2 separate regions of the Homo sapiens genome follow, and region 2 is linked to region 1. Evidence: promoter capture Hi-C in 16 types of primary human blood cells and fetal thymus (Javierre and others, 2016). All regions are on one chromosome and are shown on one strand. The core of a region is centred on a gene start or on the middle of the fragment in contact, and the rest is flanking DNA. Distances in the headings are between cores, read along the strand shown. Region 1 holds the start of ZNF2 (zinc finger protein 2). Region 2 has its middle 39 kb from the start of MAL.

Region 1 (3,971 bases), core at 276-2,775:
ACGGGGTTTCACCGTGTTAGCCAGGATGGTCTCGATCTCCTGACCTCGTGATCCGCCCGCCTCAGACTCCCAAAGTGCTGGGACTTACAGGCGTGAGCCACTGTGCCCGGCCATATTATCTATTTCTCTGTAGCTTTTCACTGTTCGGACAAGCTTCTGCTTATTCAAGTGGTTACTGTAACTGCTATGATACTGCACTAGCTTTTCTTCCAACCACTAAAATTGCTGTCTTTCTGTGACTCTTTTTCCCCACTTTTGCCCTGGAAACATGGATGCTGCCCATAGCTCAGTCTTTGTACTTTCTTCGTTTTTGCCATCCCTCAGAAAGTCCATCCACATTCAGGGCTCCATTTTCAAACTCTACAGATGTCCATGTCCTGTAATTGTATTGTAATTTTACAATACAACTGTATTGCATTCTTCCAGACTCATCCTGCATTTCCAAATGACTGCAAACCTTAAATCAGGCGTTCCACCATCACCTCAAAACTATCTTCCTTTAGGCAATTCCACACATCAACGCCTCTTCCTGGCTTTACATTTGTATCAGATGTTTTATTGTTCTCCCAGGTGTCCCAAATTCAAACTCTTACCTCACTCTCTTTCCTCCCAAATCTAGTCACCAGGCCCTTTTGACTCTTCTTTTGCAGTGTCATCTGTATCCTTCCCTTTCACTACCACCACCATAATTCAAGTCCACAACATCTTACTCCAAAACTACCATACATTCCTAAGTAGCTCTCTGCTACTGGTCCTTTCCCCTCTCTAGTCCTGAATGTGACCTCTAGAATAACTGTCTCCAAATAGTTTCATTCGTGTCAGTCCCTGGATCACACCTATATAAGCCACCTTGCCTACTGAGTCTTGTCCTGATTCTCTGAGTCCCGGGCCCTGGCTCCCAGCGTACCTTTTCTTCAACCTTGTCTACCACTGTTCCTGCATTTCTGTAAAAACTATCTCCAGCTCAAATCTGCCTAACGCTTAGCTGCTTCTTTCGTGGTTTTTGTTTTGTTGTTGTTGTTTTTCTTTCACGTCAAATCCCACCTCCTCCATGAAGCCCTCCAGCACTCGTGCGGAGGCCCAGGGCAGGGAGCTAAATGAGGCAATCTGAGGCGCTGTCTGGCAAAGACGGAGCGGCAGCATCCTAGATTTGGTGTCAATTCCACCCACGTTCATTAAGCACCCATTATGGGAAGAAGAAACGGGAGAGGCGGAGGAAGACTCCAAACCTCCAACCTTAAAGTCCGGGACCGACATACAATGGGTGCCCAGACCCCACGGGACACACGCACACACGGGGGTGGATGCACAACTTTCCGTCCGCACCGAGACGTCGCGACACACGCTCTGCAGGCTGGCCTCGCCCGTGTCACCCCGTTTTGCTCCCACAGCACCTCCCCAAAGTTCTCATGTCCCCTCTCTCGGCTGCTGCGCTCACTCCGCTCCTTGAAGACACACACCCACAACCCTCACCTCCGGCACAGAGTGCTCGGGACCCGGGAAGACGGCGCCTCTTCAGGTCGGGAAACCAACGCGCCTGCGCACAGGGTCCTGGCGACTGCGCTCCCAATCAATGCGGGGCCTTCGCAAGGACTTCATCTCCCAGAAGTCTCGGCGTCCGGTGCGCTTTAATATGACGTCCGAAAATGTGTGCAAACGCCGGCTTCCCGTGGCTGAACAGGATCCAAAATGGCAGCGCTGTCGCCTTAGCTGGGAGAGCGAGCCGTTGTGGCTGTTTGGGAGACTTATGGTCACCCTGAAGTACTGCCTGCCTCTAGTGTCGCGTCCCTCCAGTATCCGATGGGAGCGCCGTCCGCAGGGAATGTGTCTCTCTGATCATGGTGCCTCGTGTCCAGCTCTGGGGAAGACCGAGACGAAATCGAGTCAGCTGGCGTTGGGAGAGGGCTTATTTCCGCTTCCGCTTGCCCACTTTCAGGAATTTGATTCTGAGAGCAGGGCTGCGGTTCCAGGCAGGGTTTGTACACATATTTGCGTTGGAAGGAGAGAGGAGCCTAGGACACATATGTATTAACTGTGCAGCTGGTCCGACTCCCGACAGCTTCAGCGCACACCAGCCAGCCTTGGAGTTGCTGGAACGGCCCTGGCTGCAAGCTGGAATCACCCGGAGAGCTTTCGACATTGATGCCTGAGGCCCAGCTGTGGAGCGACAGTTTGAAAAGAGCTGCAGGTGACTCTAATGTGCAGCTAAAGCTAGGAACCACTGAGCTACATCTCAGGGAAGACTGAAAATTACAAAGAATATGATAAAATCTTACTTCAGGAACAAAGCTACGTTTTTCCAGGTTAATTTATTAGTGGTTTGGGTTTTTTTTAAGTTTTTGTGGGTACACAGTAGGTGTGAACATTTATGGGCCACCTGAGATATTTTGACACAGGCATGCAATAAGTAATAATCTCATCAGGACAAATGGGATATCCATCACCTCAAGCATTTGTCCTTTGTGTTACAAACGATCCAGTTATATTCTTTTAGTTACTTTAAAATATACAATATTATTGGCTGTAATTACTCTGATGTGCTATCAAATACTAGTTATACTATTTCTTATTCTATTTTTTGTACCCATTAACTATCCCCACTTCCCCACCCCGCCAACCCTTCCCAGTCTGTTAACCATCCTTCTACTCTCCATCTCCATAAGACTACACTTTCATTCAAAAAATCCAAATTGCTCACCATAAGCAAGGCACAGTTACAAATATGAGTAAGTTACTGCCCCAAATGAACTCTTGGTCCAATGGAAAAAATCAGAATGTAAAATCACAATAGAGGCAGTATGTTCTATAATTATGTCACATTCAACATACTATGAGAGTACAATGGAGGAAGCTATTAACTATGGCCGGGAAAGGTGGGAAAGGATTCCTTTCACTGGTATACTTAAATACTTAAGAAAAAAAAAGTGTGATCTAAACAGTGAATAGTACATGCAAAGGCATAGTCTAGAGGATAAAAGTGAAAATAATTAGTAGCAAAATGAATGCCTTGTGGATGAGGTTTAGGGGCCAATAACTATCTTGAGGTAAGGCCAGGTTGTGGCTGCCTTTGTGTTGTACTAAGGGGTTTGGACCTTCCTAGGAGATTAGAGCTTGATTAAAGTCACAACATCCATAAGAGAAATACTTTTTTTTTTTTGTTCCCTTCTGTGTGGTGGTTTTTATTATTTAGCCTTATACTGAGGGTGGAAACTGGGGTCCTGAAAGTGTTTCCTTCTAGAATATTCCCCACCCACTGGCAGGCCCTAGGCTTTGTCTTTACCGCTTCCAGGTAGCTGCCAAAGTGGAAGTTTATGTGCTCTAGGATTTAGCAGTCTAAAAGTCAGGTTTGTTGCTCGATTCTCAGAATTCTAGCTCTCACTTTATTTATTTTTTGAGACAGGCTCTGGCTGTGTCAGCCAGGCCAGAATGCAGTGGCATGCTCTCAGCTCACTGCAACCTCCACCTCCTGGGCTCACGTAGTCCTCCCATCTCAGCCTCAAGAGTAGCTGGGACTACAGGCATGCACCACCATGTCTGGCTACTTTTTGTATTTTTTTGTAGACATGGGGTTTTACCATGTTGCCCAGGCTGGTTTCAAACTCGGGCTCAAGCAATCCACCCTCTTCGGCCTCCCAGAGTGCTAGGATTATAGGCATGAGCCACTGCACCTGGCCCATTTCACTTTATTTTTTTAAATGTTTACAAATTCCTCACTTTCATGCCTGCTCATCAGTGTGTTTATAAAGATGTTTGCAATTTTTCAGCATTTTTAGTTTTTTTATTAAGAGGGCTGTTTAGGCCATCTAATCGGCCATGTTACTGGGAAGATTAAGAGAATTTTAACTGATATTCTCAAAAGAGTTAGGAGGAGCATATGGAAGCTAAGCAGCCAAGAAGTGACATACATCCATCTTTTTAGAGTAAAACAGGTATCTCTTGGGCCCAGAAGCTTGTAGGCTCTGCCAAATTGC
Region 2 (3,962 bases), core at 1,054-3,553, 180 kb after region 1:
GGTCTTAGTAGCTTGATTCTGCAGTTACTTCCATTAACTTCAATTCCTGTTCACTTGTTTCTTCCTATGTGTGGTGAGTTTTCATTGGAAGCTCATGTCTGTGGAGGTAGCTCAGTTCTGAGTGATGTATTAGAGTCTTTCTAGACCAAACACTTACTTTTTTTTTTTTTGGAGTCTTTCTCTGTCACTCAGGCTGGAGTGCAGTGGTGCAATCATGGCTCACTGCCGCCTCCAACTCCTGGGCTCAAGTGGTCCTCCCATTTCAGCCTCCCAAGTAGCTAGTACTACAGCCACACACCACAATGCCTGGCCAATTTTAATTTTATTTTTTGTAGAGACAGGGCCTTGCTATGTTGCCCAGGCTGGTCTTGAACTCCTAGCCTCAAGCAATCCTCCTGCCTTGACCTCCCAAAGTGCTGGGATTATAGGTGTGAGCCATTGTGCCCGACCTTCACTCCCTTCTGTGTATCTCAGCCAAAAGATACACAACTTCAGGTTCTGCTTTTCAAAGTATATCCCTGGTTTTCTGGGACTAACAGTTTGTATCCTACAACTGGCCAATAAATAGATATAGGTATGTCACCCTTTCCCTTCTCAGGCTTCCACTGTGGTTGTCCTGAGGAGAAAAAACACTTTTGGATTTATGGGCTGTTAAGGAGAAAAAGGTAAAAGGAAATGAAAAGCCAGACTAGAATAGGAAGGTGACCACAAGGCATAGACTCCTCGGCAAGGAATTCAAGCAGCAGAAGGTATCAGATGGCAGTTCTCTGGACTTTCCAAGGGAGTCAGAGTTGTCATGTGGACTAAATGAGATGGTCTGAGTGGGAGCATCTTATAAACTGTAAAGTACCTGGTCAATGTGAGGAGGTGGTGGTGGGAAACACCTCCAGCAGCCTGGCCGTCTGTGTCATTCACTGCTGTATTCCTGGTGCCCAGCCCAGGGTCTGAAAAAATAGGTGGGGAGGGAGGGACATCAAAGTACATTCTTTTGAATGAATCTGCGATGACACCACCACCTCCTCACATTCACCAGGTACTTTACAGTTTATAAGATGCACTCACTCTGACTGTCTCATGTAGTCCACGCAGCAACTCTAACTCCCTTGGCAAGACCAGAGAACTGCCATTTGCTACCTTCCGCTGCTTACTGCCAGCTCACCAGTGCCAGGCGTGGGGCCAGCAACGGCACCTGGGCCCCATTTTGCCAGCCAGTGTCTGCAGAGGGGTCGCAGTCCCCTTCCTGCCATCAGAAGCTTCCCTGGCCAGATGTAGCCATATGCACGTTACTTACATTTGCACATTTAATCTTCGCCATAGTCCAGGAGGTGGTGCTGTCCTGGAGGGGACTGGGGCCCAAGGTCACACGGGCAGGGCATGGTGCTGCCTGGACATGGTGTAGGACACTTGTGGGTCTCCCCCAAAAACCAGATTTCACACCTGAGGGCAGGGGCAGGTAGAGGCTCCTAGAATGAGCCCAGAGGGTGGCCTGCCAGAGCCTCAGCCAAGGTTGGCGTGGGGAATTAGGAGTCTTGATGGGGCATCATGCCTGCAGTGCCACGGAGCCCATCAGTGGCTTCCTCTCTCCGGGTTCCAGCTATGGCTTAGGGATCCCTGTCCTACCTTTCGTGACATGCCAGGGGTCCCTGAGCATTTGGGAATCTACTCAAACATCGTGGGAGCCTTCCTGCAATGGCTTCAGTGTTGCAGAATCAATGTTGTGCGGAAGAAAGTCACTTCCTCTTTCCACACCCCTCTGGCTCCTAAACAGTAGGAGGGACCACAGCCAAGGACTACAGGTGGATGTAAACCCAGTAGTAGAGTTTGTTATCTCATTTCTGTCTCAAGTAGTCTAGGTTGGATTCTTTTTAGGTGTGAAATCTTTGAGTATTTGTATTTACTTTTTAATTAAAACTCATACTTAGTTTTCCAAATTTCCTGGTGGCCTAAACTTCCCTCTCATTTTAATGCTTATTTGTGTATTTTCTCAGAGCAGGAGATATTTTTTAGTGGCTGGGACTGGCCCTCAAAGTGGAGAAATATTTGATTGCAGCGAGCCATTTACAGTGAGTATATTTCAAGTATAACTTTGGCAGAATCCTTTTTTTTTTTAAATAAGCAAATACACGCAGTCATGTATACATTTCCCAAAAGGCTGAACTTAAACTTGAAAGGACTTCTTAAGGAAGGATGGAGCTTAACAACAGGTGTGTTAACCCATTCTTCTCTAGAACACGGAGAAGAGCCTCCTATATTTAGAAAGTTGGTTAAGAGTAGAATATAAGAACTGGGGTAATAACCCCCAGATTGGAGTCCAGGAAGAAATGGCTGATGCCAGGTTTGGAGAGGGAGGTTGAGCCTGAATGTTACCACAGCAGATGGTGAGAAAACTTCCAAAGGCTGCTGGGCTCTGGTCAAAAGGACTCAGCAGCCTCCTGCTGGCCAAAGATGGGAACACATGAGCTTCTTATCACTACAATGGATTGGAATGCACTAAATTGAAATCCACAAGTTCAAAATGATACTTAAAACAAAAACTTCTTTGGTCACTTTTGGAGGATGCTTATTATTTTGAAAACTGTTTCAAAAGAAAAAGAAGCAAGCAAAAAACATGATATGGGGCAAAGAGCTTGTTAAAAACATGGATACAGCTGGGTGCAGTGCCTCACACCTGTAATCCCAGCACTTTGGGAGGCTGAGACTGGTGGATCACCTGAGGTCAGGAGTTCAAGACCAGCCTGGCCAACATGGTGAAACTCCGTCTCTACTAAAAATACAAAAATTAGCCAGGCATGGTCCTGGGTGCCTGTAATCCCAGCTACTCGGGAGGCTGAGGCAGGAGAATTGCTTAAACCCGGGAGGCGGAAGTTGCAGTGAGCCGAGATTGCGCCATTGCACTCTAGCCTGGGTGACAAGAGCAAAACTCCATCTCAAAACAAACAAACAAACAAACAAACAAATAAAAAACAACCATGGATACCTGAGCACCATCCTCTGGACAGCACTGTTTGAGTCCTTCTCCTCCTAGAACCCTTTGCAGAATTCAAGAAAGTCTGAGGGTCGGGTTCCTGCCCAAAGATTCTGCTTGAACAGGTAAGGGAGGCTGCATTGTTGAAAGCTCCCCAGGCAGGGTGGCCAGGGCTGAGGAAGCCTGAGGCCAGCTTTCTGCCTCCACTCTCACCCTCAATCCACGCACCAGGCAAGAGCGTTCCTCCTGGGTTTGAATCCCAGCTCTGCCTGGTGGCAAGGTCATTGAACTCCCCTGTGCCTCTGTGTCCCTGTCCATCAAATAGAGGAGGTGGGGGTCCCGCTGGCCCCTCTATCATCCGGTCCTCATGATGGCTTAACAAGCTTCTCTGGCACATGGTGAGTGTTGGCCAAAATAACCATAACCATTGGAATGGCACAGACGGCAGGAGGGGAGGTTCCCTGAGAAAGACCCAGAGAGGGAAATATCCCTAAGGGTTGGGAAGTTCACTCCTGGGACAGAGGGGAGGGAGACCAATCAGCTGGGTTGGCGAGATAGCATTGAGATGGGAAAGAATAAGGAGGATAGCCTCTGTGGAGAGTGGATCTGCTCCGTTGCACAGAGCAGCTGGAAGCCTCTCATGGGCAGGCGGGGGCTGCTGCAGGGGCTGGACTGCTGCTGAGAAGTGAACTTTACACGCTGTGACAGACACTACCCAAGTAATGACTCCATGGGAAGGGCAAATGAGGTGTCAGGAGGATGCGTGCTCTCAGGTCAGTGTGGCAGGGCTTTGGGCTGTGGCTGGGAAGTATGGGTTTGGGCTGGGGCAGAGGAGGAGCTGAGAAATGGGGAGGAGCACCGGGGGTGGGTAGCCTGGTGGCAGGTTTTTCTGCATAGCTGGGCATTCTTTCAGCAAGGCAGGTTTCATGCACTGCCAACCCCAGATGCCTTTTCTACTACTTGTCTTCCTTTCCATGACAGCTTTGCCTCTCCTTCC

Evidence for each region. Contacts are between HindIII fragments. The CHiCAGO score rates a contact against its expected background, and 5 or more counts as called.
Region 2: a fragment that was not itself captured here is called in contact with the fragment with the promoter of ZNF2 in region 1 in 4 of 17 cell types (fetal thymus, naive CD8 T cells, non-activated CD4 T cells and 1 more); the score reaches 10.2 in fetal thymus.

What each region holds. Positions count from the first base shown.
Region 1 is chr2:95,163,363-95,167,333 of GRCh38, reverse strand. ZNF2 (zinc finger protein 2) reads right to left here and starts at 1,525. Exons shown (of 5, transcript NM_021088.4): 1 at 1,474-1,525. RefSeq lists enhancers at 1,409-1,838, 1,266-1,900, 1,901-2,537. The HindIII fragment of the contact is 3,796 bases long and covers 156-3,951 here.
Region 2 is chr2:94,985,048-94,989,009 of GRCh38, reverse strand. No RefSeq gene overlaps it. Among named protein-coding and RNA genes, the nearest start is that of MAL, 39 kb to the left of the region's middle. The HindIII fragment of the contact is 2,095 bases long and covers 1,256-3,350 here.